2 separate regions of the Homo sapiens genome follow, and region 2 is linked to region 1. The links are contacts of gene promoters, found by promoter capture Hi-C in blood cells and fetal thymus (Javierre and others, 2016). All regions are on one chromosome and are shown on one strand. The core of a region is centred on a gene start or on the middle of the fragment in contact, and the rest is flanking DNA. Distances in the headings are between cores, read along the strand shown. Region 1 holds the start of ENAM (enamelin). Region 2 holds the start of MOB1B (MOB kinase activator 1B).

Region 1 (5,671 bases), core at 1,498-3,997:
TCAAGCTGCCAAAAGAGTCAGATTAAAAGGAAATATAAGTGTGTGTGCGTGAGAGAGAGAGACAGGGAAAGAGAGAGACAGGGAAAGAGAGAGAGACAGAGAGAGAGAGAAAGAGAGAGATATCATAGCACCAGAATGTGAAAATTAGAAATTAGGAGGTTATCCCCCAAATAGGAATATTAATGGGTTTGAGTTTCTAGTTACTAGTTGATTTATAAAGAAATAGTGATGTCCAACTACATTCATTGTACAGAATAATCTCAGTTTCAAGGAGGGCACACTCCAAAATCAAAACTTTGTGCTACTTTCTAAGATGTTATAGATAATATTCTGTTATATAGAGACTAAGTAAACTGGAATATGCAGAATCTTATTTTTTTCCTGGTTTCCTCTATTGTTCCTGTTATTATTATTATCATCATCATCACTTCCTTTAAAAATCACTTATGTGGCCAGGCGCGGTGGCTCACGCCTTAATCCCATCACTTTGGGAGGCTGAGGTGGGTGGATCCCCTGAGGACAGGAGCTTGAGACCAGCTGAGCCAACATGGTGAAACCTTGTCTCTACTAAAAATACAAAAATTAGCCGGGTGTGGTGTCTCACACCTGTAATACCAGCCACTTGGGAGGCTGAGGCAGGAGAATCGCTTGAACCCAGGAGGAGGAGGTTGCAGTGAGCCAAGATCGTGCCATTGCACTCCAGCCTGGGCGACAGAGTGAGACTCTGTCTCAAAAAAAAAAAAAAATCACTTATGCTCTAAGATGGTCAGGAAAATAGGAAGAAATAGGAAATAGGCAGAATAGTAAATTTATCTCTTTATTAGATACCTTGATTAAACATATAGACTTATGTATGAAGTTTGGAGATTGTTTTTAACGGGGTTCATTCATTTATCCCACTCTAGTTAATTATGAAAGACTTGTAAAATTAAGTCTCGTATTTACATCTTGGAACAAGGTTTATTCTGAAACATTTACTTGAGTAATTTCTTAAGAAAACTTTCTATTTGCATATACAATAGAGGAAAATAAAAGGTTTTAATCAGAATGATTCATTTTCATCGTATATCAGATATAGTCCATTTCCTAGCAGAGTAACCAACATGTAGACACTCAGTTGTTTTCATTCCTTTCATTCTTTCTTCCTTTTCTGGACATAAAATCTATCTAGCATAATTGGAGCCAATGCTCACCCTTCTGTTTACTTCCTATAGGAGCAACATAAATGACGCTTTAGCATTTTTATAATGGACATTTTCCTAAATTGTGGGTGTAATCAGTTATCTTTCATACATTAGAAAAATTGGCAGAATGTAATTAAACAAAGGAAGCAGTAGTATGTAAATACCTTTCCTACTATTTAAAGATTTTCAGAGTTAGAACATCATAGAGAATGAAAATAACAGCTGAATGTTATTTTAGAGTGTTTAGTATAGGTTACAACAATATGTGGAAACTAATAAAGAGAATACTGGTGAAAGCTTTCTTTGCTAAATGTTTCTAAGATTATGGCCCAAGATTTAAGGGTGCTTTTGGATGGTTAATTTCTGCCTTGCTTAATCATTCATCTCATCTCTCTAGTAGCTGTCACAGTGATTCTTGATAATATATGTAGCCTTTATATTTGCAAATAGAAAACTCATTTTCTCTTTTGTAAAATTAATATATTATGTTGGATGACTGAGATCCCTTCCATCTCTAAAAGTTAGTGATTAAAGTCTATAATTAGTTATTTTTTGAGTTGAAAGTAACACTCATAATGATTGCCACAAAGTACAATGACTGTGTAAGTTCTTCTTCCATTCCATCTGTGAAAGCAGATGCTCTTTGAGTCTTCTGATACATTTCAGTAGTGTTTGGCCCTCTCAAGTGTATTTCTGACAGTATCTAGTTTGAGAACCTGTATGTATTGGCAAAAATAAATGAAAGTACTCACCAAGTTATCTAGTTTAGGAAAAGAGGTTCCAAGCCTGCACCGAAGCACCAACATTTTTTTCAGCAAAATTTTTATAAGCCTTTAAGAAAAATACAGCTTTAACCTGAGAAGAAACTAAAATATAGAAATGGAACAAATAAATGAAATGAATAGCAAAGCTTCAGTTCTAAGGCAGCACATGTCATGTTAATTATTTTATCCAGTCATACCTGTATTAGGGGGCCACAAAATCAAGTTTAATCTTCTGTTGCTTTAAAAGTAGGATGAAAGCTAAATCAGAGAGGAAATGACACAGGCACTGTATTTTGAGATACTTCTAGGGCGATGTTGACAAAACTAGACTTCACTATGGGGAAATGTACAAAGTCACAGTAGTAAAGGAGGTCTAAGAAGGCTGGAAAAAACTTACAAGAAAAACAAATACACCAAATAAACCAAGGAGTTTAAAGTTTTATCAGAAGATTAGTCTGCATACAATGATTATACAACCAACAAGAAGGAATGCAATAAGGAGAATTAACCAACATCTATGAATTAAATTCATTATTTGACACTATATGTAATTTATGTTGATAATCTCTAATACTCACCCAATGCCAATTAGAAGCTGTAATATATAAAAAATAATTTTTACTTGAACTTTGTTAGCTTGCCTTTGAAATATATTCTTAATGGTCTATAGTGGAAATAACTACAAATTGCTGAAGCCAGGGAGATCTCAAGAAGCAAGATACATTTATTTCTTAATAATAAAACAAAAATTCTTCACTCAGATATCATGTTCAGTATCAAAAAGGCTCAAAATAAAAAGATTCCTCCTTGTCAGAAAGCTTGGCACAGCAAGGTTCCATTTAAGCACTGTTGTAGACCTGCATAACCAATCAGCTTTGAGGAAAATGGTTTTGTCATCACAAGAGTTTAAGGTAAAAAACACACATCGAATTTAAAATTTAGAATGTGTTATTATAGGAGCTGTCAAGTCAAGTCTCTTATTACGTATAATAACAGTCCAGGAAAATGAGCTTACAGCAGTAAGATTTAGAAGATGCTTCCCTTGGTGAATTTGGCTTTCAAAGTATAGAAACTATGTTTATAACAAAGATATTTCAGGAACAAAGGCGAATATTAACTGTATGCTATTGTCATAAGTCAGTTGCCTTCATCAAAAGGCAGGCTAATATATATATTTACTTAATATACATTTTATATGTAATTAAAATGAACTGGAATGTTATATCCATGGGTGAAAACTCAGTGACTTGATTTACTTTGTATTACATAAGGCTAGCAGGACATAGTGTTCTTTTTGAAGTCAAATATAATCCAGTCACTGGGGATTCAGAATTTTAGATGAGTTGGGTACAATGGCAAATGAACTCTCAGCTATTATGATAATACAACTTAATGAAAATAGGACCTGAGTAATTTAATGAAACAGTTATGTTATGGATTTTTTTCCTGAAATCTGACTTTCCATAATAAAGATTTCACTTTCAAATAGATAGGCCAATTGCACTTTTAATTGACAAGAGCAAGCTTTGCTATCTTTGCTTAACTTGGATTCTCCTGTTCTCTTATGGCTTCACAAGAGAAAACATTTGTTGTGGCAATGTTTGCTTATTTTAATGTTGGGATTTAAAAACCAAGAATGAATGAACTTGATGGCAAAACCTGTTCCTACTTGGTATGATTGTGTATATAAGTTAATCCAGTGGTTGCCCATGGTGCTGTTCTTCCAAGGACAGAGAAGTGCTGTGTCATTCCTTTTGGGCCAAATAGCATTGTATTTCTCAGTGCCTCTCTGCTCCACATATTTCGTGCCACAAATAATAAAAATGTGCTAGAATATTTGACTTTAAATGAAGCTAGGACTATCTTTTAACTCTATGTGTATCCAAGATGTGCAAAGTTAAATCTGCTTCAAGTACCTGCTTGCCTTTGTCTGATTTTGTAGAAACTGAGTAGTATTTATCATATTGTGTGCACATTGAGATGAATTTGCAAATGGTAGGACACTTACGGGACAGTGACCTACAGTGTGTTCTTGGAAGTGAAATGGGAGTTCTGATGCTGGATGACCTGGCCTATCCTGTGCCCATTCATGTAGAGGGTAATTTTTGATTTTGGCCTTACCCATATAGGTTGTTGGGAGTTGCCACTAAACCTCACTTTTGATCACTTTCCTCTATTTACCCTTGTTCTCTTGGCCACAAGGGTGGTTAGTTGTCATGAAATAATTCATGTTTCTAAAATCCAGCCAAGCTATTGAATGAGTGAATTCTTAGTACTGTTGGATTGGATTGGGAGAATTACCAAATTTCCTTTCATTTAAAGGAAAAAAAAAAGCTCAAACTTTATAATTTTTTTTTTTTTTTGAGACAGAGTCTGGCTCTGTCACCCAGGCTGGGGTGCAGTGGCGCGATCTTGGCTCACTGAAACCTCTGTCTCCTGGGTTCAAGTGATTCTCCTGCCTCAGCCTCTAATGTAGCTGGGATTACAGGCATGAGCCACTGTGTCCAGCCTATAAAATGTTTTGAAATCAGTCCTTTATGAGTTTTTCCCCCTTTACTTTATCTCTATTTATTTTGTAAATTATTTTTCCCTTCAGGCAATTACAACTGTTTGTGAAACATGTTTATGATTTGGCTTAAATTTTTTTTTTTAATGTATCTCTTTGATTTTTTTCTCTACATTACCCTTCTCAGTCTTAAAATAAGATGTGTTAACCTGGGAGCTGAAACCTAAGAAATTGCATATAAGAATTTGTGCATTTGTGTGTAAATGTACCATTTTTTTCTCCCCCTGAAAAAGAACCCATATTCTCCAGGGGGCCTGTGAACTTCTTCCTTTGCCTCCACTCTTTAAGGTCCCCTCATTGCTCTAGATTTTAAGCCAGCAGGAGCAGAAAAGTCTTTTGATTTCATACTCTAGATGTAAGGGAAAGAGGCTGGGTTTTGAAATTGCCAGATCTAAGTTTAAACCTTCCACAAATTATCCAGCTGTTCAATTTCCTGTTCAGTAAAATGAGGGCAATATTACCTTCCTCATAAGTTTCCTCTAAGAAATGAATGAAGTAATAAATATAGCTTGGGCCACAAAGTGGGACTCCATCTCTACAAAAAAATATATTAACCAGCCACAGTGGTGTGTGCCTGTAGTCCCAGCTACTCGGGAGGCTGAGATGGGAGGACAAGAGGGCTCCTCAAGGAGCCCAGGAGGTCAAGGTTGCAGTGAGCTATGATCGCACCGCTGCCCTCCAGCCTGGGTGAGGCAGAGAGAGACCCTGTCTCAAAAAAAAAAAGTGAAATGCCTGGCTCCTAGTAGCCGACTATCAGTGACTGACTGATCAATACACAAAGGTACTTCATTGTTCCACATTACACCTTATAATGATTTACTAAGGATTTAAGAACAATAAATTCAGCCATAGTTCTCATAGTTCTCAGAGCAAATAGATCCTCCAAGTACAACTATGAAGGTAAAGTTCTGTGGATTAGTATTAACAGAACACTCCAACACTGCAGGATCACTGAATGAAGCGCCTGAGACAAAGTAGTGTCTTAGGGATCCATTACTGGTGCCAAATAGTGTCTAAGCATCCACAACCTTGAATTCTTTCTGAAACCATTCATTCCTATAGCCTGTTCTCAGGCTGTAAATGCGAGAGATCTTTCTATCAGAAGAGAAGAGGAGGCGCAGTTTAATTCCTCACAAATTAAAGGACTGATAATGCTT
Region 2 (5,671 bases), core at 1,339-3,838, 270 kb before region 1:
AAGATTTCTTTTGTAGTTACTAACCTTCAGGAGAAACAAACTAATCCACCACAAATCTGAATCTATTAAATACTGAGCCATGTAAAAATAGGATTCTACTGTATTTGTATTCAAAAAATAGCATCAGAAACTTCTCCATCCCCTAGTTTCAGCCAAATATGGCTCTTCCCTGCTTTAACCTTTTTTTTTTTTTTTTTTGAGACAGAGTCTCACTCTGCCACCCAGGCTGGAGTGCAGTGGCGCGATCTCGTCTCACTTCAACCTCTACCTCCCGGGTTCAAGTGATACTCCCGTCTCAGCCTCCCAAGTAGCTGGGACTACAGGTGCGTGCCACCTTGCCCAGCTAATTTTTGTATTTTTAGTAGAGACGGGGTTTCACCATATTGGCCAGGCTGATCTCGAACTCCTGACCTGGTGATCTGCCTGTCTTGGCCTCCCAAAGTGCTGGGATTACAGGCATGAGCCACCGCGACTGGCCTTGCTTTAACCAATTTAGCTTACTAGACACAAGCCCATCAGCAGTAGTCATGGATATCATCTACAGTGCTATTTTGAATACAGCTTCTAAATTCTTGAAAACAATCAAACATTAGCAATGTAAAATTAAGCTCAAGATGAGAAGCTTCAAGTTGAGATACCTGAATATGGTGATTAGAACTAAAACAAGAAACTGCCCAGGCACGGTGGGCTCACGTCTGTAATCCCAGCACTTTGGGAGATCAAGGCAGGCAGATCACTTGAAATCAGGAGTTCGAGACCAGCCTGGCCAACATGGTGAAACCCCCATCTCTATTAAAAATACAAAAATTAGCCAGGCGTGGTGGCGCGGGCCTGTAGTCCCAGCTACTCAGGAGGCTGAGGCAGGAGAATCGCTTGAACCCGGGAGGCAGAGGTTGCAGTGAGCCGAGATCACGCCACTACACACTCCAGCCTGGTGACAGAGCGGAGACTCCGTCTCAAAAAAAAAAAAAAAAAAAAAAAAGAACTAAAATAAGAAACAAGGACTTTTTTATAAAATCACCCAGTCCTGTCATCTAGCCCTATGCCAATCCGACAAACTCAGAATCAACTTCTAGGAGGAGCCTAAGAAATCCCTTTCCGTTTAAAGGTTTTAGGCAAGTTGACACAAGCCAGGTCCCCTATGCATATTGGAAATATCAAGTCTGCCCCTAGGTCAGCCTTGTTCAGTTTTGCTTAAACACCCTAAAAAAAAAAATTCTAGATGTGAGCATGTGAAAATAAGAGTGAATTAAATTCTCAGTATTCAGACGTCAATGTAATGACTAAAAATTATTAGGCAAGGAAAGAAGAGAAATCTTAAGAAAATATCCTTTAAATGCTAATTTCTCCACAACAGTAAAACAGTATATGGGTGAGTTTCAACTTCTAAGTTTTTTATTAGTTTTCTAAACACAGACTAAACATGGAATGAGTGCATCACAACGAAGCCTTCAAAGGAGTTATTCCTCAGGCTGTAACCCCTGTTTTCAGAGGACCTGAGGCTTATCTACTGCCTCCATATCCACATCTGGCCATCCCATCCTTCTGCCCTTCCCCCTCCACGTTCCCCTCCACTCGTCTGGAACAAACGATAAGTAAGTGAAATAATGACCAGCACTAAACATGACGCCAAAGTTGGCATTTACAAATGATTTTCAAAACAACTCCCCAGTGGACCTAATCAACCTAGGCAGGGCACACTATCCAAAACCTATTTGCTGGTTGTCTAAAAAGATAAAACTCATCCTCTTCAGGGAAGTCCTCTGGGAGGAAGGGCGCCTCTAGGAAGCAAGGGGGCGGCTCCAGACCCCTTTCTCAGGGACCCCCGTCTGTGTCCAAGGGATCCCGACCCGCAAGTAGCCTTGTTTCAGTGTTACATCTACAGAACTTGTCATCCCAACTTCCCAGCCCTAAGACGAGAGAGGAAGTTAAAAGGGTCCTGGGATGACAGGGGAAAGTACGACAGTCTTATCTTCTGTGCTTGGGACCCAGAAAAGAGCAATGGGCAGCCGCGACGGAGCCATTCAACCGAGCACCGCTTGGATACGGATTGTGCAGGCGAGTGGGAGATACCCACGAGAAGCGCACAAACAAGCCCGGGAATGCGAGCGAAGGCAGAGACGGGGGTGATGAAGGAATCCAGGCGCTGGCCCCGGGGTGTGCCGGGGGGGAAGAACCTCCTCAGGGCTGCAGGAGCCCACGAGTACTCGAAGCCCTATGGGGAGGCGGCGGTTAGGTAGTCCGAGCGCTCCGCGCAGTCCCGGGGCCCCGCTTGGTGGTGACGCCGGGCCCCGGGAGCGCTGGGCCAGGAGGGTCGGGACGAGGGCGGGCGACGGGCGGCGGGCGGCGGGCGGGGGCCCAGGTCCACCCGAACAAAGCCGGCGCGTGCGGGGCCTGGCTACTCACAACAAGAAGCTCATGTTGGCCGCGGGGCAGGCTGCAGGCTCGGCGGTCGCGAGGCCTCGGAGCGGCGTGGGCCAGGAAAGAAGAGGAAAGGCGAATGGAACAGGAGACAGGGAGGCGGAGGAGGAGGTGCCGAGAGCCGGCTGCTCGGTGGCCGCAACTAGTTCGGCTCAGCTAGTTCCAATGGCAGGGGGAGGGGGCGGAAGTGGGTAGCGCTCGTCTTGAATCACTCCAGGGGAGGGGAAGGAAAGGGAGGCGGGGCAGGCTCTCCGCGAGCCCCTCCCCAGCTCCCCGCCGCCCCCACCTCACGAGCTCTCGCGATAGCGGTGCAAGCCCACCCCGGCCCTCCGGCTGCGGCATGGGGACTCTCACCTTCTGGTCTCCTCTGCTGCTAGGGACGACGCCCAGCGTGTGCGCCGCGGCTGCCCGGCCCCCCTGTCCACCCGGTTAGGAGTCATGGCAGAGCTCTCGGAGCCGCTCAGCTGGGCTCCAGAGGTCAGGGAGGAAGTGGGCTTCAGCTCGGGGATGTCAAGGTCCCGCAGTGAGGGATGGAATTACCACCGGAGTTAGGCCCACCGTGAGTGTCCGGCCAAGGGCGGTGAAAGGTAATGGCATCTCTCAGTTCACCACGGAACCCAGCATGATAGGGTGGTCATCGGTGTAACCACTTAGGGGGCCAAAGCTTGTAAGCATTCTAATGCACAGAACATCCTAGAAGCTAGAAGCTATTCAGACCCACTTACAAAGGGACTTTTATTCTCACAGGGTTATGGGGCCCAGGGCAAGCCTTTATATTCTGTTTAAGAATCCTTCACATACCTTGAATATGTCACCACAGCATTACCAATTTAGGAGGGAAATACGGGTATCGAAGAGATGTCCGTCTTCTTTACTCACAACACCCATCAAATCTACAAGTTTTCAAAGAGAATCTGAGCAAAACAAATCATGTGCAGATATTAGCTCACCTTTGGCTTATCCCAAAGGGCAGAATACACTTTGAAGTAGGTGCAGATATGAAATGTATTATACTGCATATATGCACTATTATTTGGCACGTTGGTAAAGTGGTAAAAAAAAAAAAAAAAAAAAAAAAAAAAAAAAAAAAAAACGTTTTAGGCCGGGCGCAGTGGCTCATGCCTGTAATCCCAGCACTCTGGGAGGCCGAGGTGGGTGGATCACCTGAGGTCAGGAGTTCAAGACCAGCCAAAGTTCAAGACCATGGCCAAACCCCGTCTCTACTAAAAATACAAAAATTAGCCGGGCATGGTGGCACACACTTGTAATCCCAGCTACTCGGGAGGCTGAGGCAGGAGAATTGCTCCAACCCAGGAAGCAGAGGTTGCAGTGAGCCAAGATCATGCCACTACACTCCAGCCTGGGTGACAGAGTTAGACTCCGTCTCAAAAAAAAAATTTTTTAATAGAAGAAAATACTAGAATCTTGCACTATCTCAGGAACAGCAGAGGTTACTGGAATGAGAAAACTTACAGACTCAAAAGATTACCAGATCAGGATAAATAGCTAATGCATGCAGAGCTTAATACCTAGGTGATAAGTTGATAGGTTCAGCACACCACCATGGCACACACGTTTACCTATGTAACAAACCTGCACGTCCTGCACATGTATCCTGGAACTTCAAATTAAATTAAAAATTTTTTAAAAGATTCCCCAAAAAGAAGAAAGAGGAGGATTTATCTGAATGAAAATAATAGATTTATGGTATAAAACCCTGTGCTCCAAATATTGATATGGTACTGACTTACTGTATAATTCTTTTTTTTTTTTTTTTTTTTGAGACGGAGTCTCACTCTGTCACCCAGGCTGGAGTCCAGTGGTGCAACTTCTGGACTAGGCTCACTGCAACTTCTGCCTCCTGGGTTCAAACAATTCTGCCTCAGCCTCCTAAGTAGCTGGGATTACAGGCCTGTGCCACCACACCTGGCTAATTTTTGAATTTTTAGTAGAGACGGGGTTTTACTATGTTGGCCAGGCTGGTCTCAAACTCCTGACCTCGTGATCTGCCTGCCTTGGCCTCCCAATATGCTGGAATTACAGGCGTGAGCCACCACGCCCAGCCCTGTATGATTCTTGTAAGGGTCTTCTGAAAGTAAGACTTGCATTACCAGATTACTGATTATCTTTGGAAAGAGTGAGTTGACCTGTCATAGCCTCAGTTTTAGCCCATTTAAAATGGGAGCCTTCTATCATTACATGATCTCTAAAATATCTTCCAGTTCTAAAGTTCTCTCCTGCCAGGGGCATCCTTCAAATGACTGGCACACATTTCCAAACTGCTCCCTGATTTGGCTTAGGTAGCCTTAGTTTTGGTCTGACATAATTTAGATGTATCCTGTGACACTGAATAAGGGAAAACTGGCAGAGGAAAGAATCTGCAAAAATACCTTCTGAGTATTTCTTTATCATACCACTAGGAGAGTTGCCTGGAATTAACATCCAATAAAACGTAAATATACTGGTCCTAAATGTGAGGGAGGTGTCAGGTTAATAATATACAATATGATTCCAGGTTAGACTTTAAATCAAATGATGTCTGTCATATAAAATTATTCAGCATATCAAAAACATTGGGAATTTCAGAATCAAAGAGAGTTTATATTCAAATAGATATTTATAATTATCATCTCTTCTGACCAAAATCTAATAACCTTTTGTTTATGAAGCAAGATTATTAAAATTTTTGTTCTATCCAACTTTTCAAAGAATTGAAATTATACTGTAACATGTACAGAATAGAACAGAACATGAGTGGGCATATGCTCTTTAAATATTCATTTGAATAAAGACACATGCACATGTTTGTTTATTGCAGCACTATTTACCGTAGCGAAGACTTGGAACCAACCCAAATGCCCATCAACGAGAGACTGGATAAAGAAAATGTGGCACATATACACCATGGAATACTATGCAACCATAAAAAAGAATTAGTTCATGTCCTTTGCAGGGACATGGATGAAGCTGGAAACCATAATTCTTAGCAAACTAACACAGGAACAGAAAGCAAACACCACATGTTCTCACTCACAAGTGGGAGTTGAACAATGAGAACACATGGACGCAGGGAGGGGAACATCACACATCAGGGCCTGTCGGGGGGTGGGGGGCAAGGGGAAGGAAAGCATTAGGACAAACATCTAATGCATGTGGGGCTTAAAACTTAGATGACAGGTTGATAGGTGCAGCAAACCACCATGGGGGTTGATAGGTACAGCAAACCACCATGGCACATGTATACCTGTGT

The links. The method cuts DNA at HindIII sites, captures the fragments that hold promoters and counts their contacts. A CHiCAGO score of 5 or more calls a contact.
Region 2: the fragment with the promoter of MOB1B here is called in contact with the fragment with the promoter of ENAM in region 1 in 13 of 17 cell types (fetal thymus, total B cells, non-activated CD4 T cells and 10 more); the score reaches 15.2 in fetal thymus.

Annotation. Positions count from the first base shown.
Region 1 is chr4:70,625,820-70,631,490 of GRCh38, reverse strand. It overlaps ENAM (enamelin), which reads right to left and starts at 2,747. Exons shown (of 9, transcript NM_031889.3): 1 at 2,527-2,747; 2 at 1,937-2,050. The coding sequence starts at 1,990. The HindIII fragment of the contact is 672 bases long and covers 2,097-2,768 here.
Region 2 is chr4:70,899,286-70,904,956 of GRCh38, reverse strand. It overlaps MOB1B (MOB kinase activator 1B), which reads right to left and starts at 2,588. Exons shown (of 6, transcript NM_173468.4): 1 at 2,407-2,588. The coding sequence starts at 2,420. It overlaps LOC124900711 (a long non-coding RNA gene), which reads left to right and starts at 2,726. Exons shown (of 2, transcript XR_007058132.1): 1 at 2,726-3,008; 2 at 5,240-5,671. RefSeq lists silencers at 2,259-2,308, 2,619-2,768. The HindIII fragment of the contact is 2,463 bases long and covers 625-3,087 here.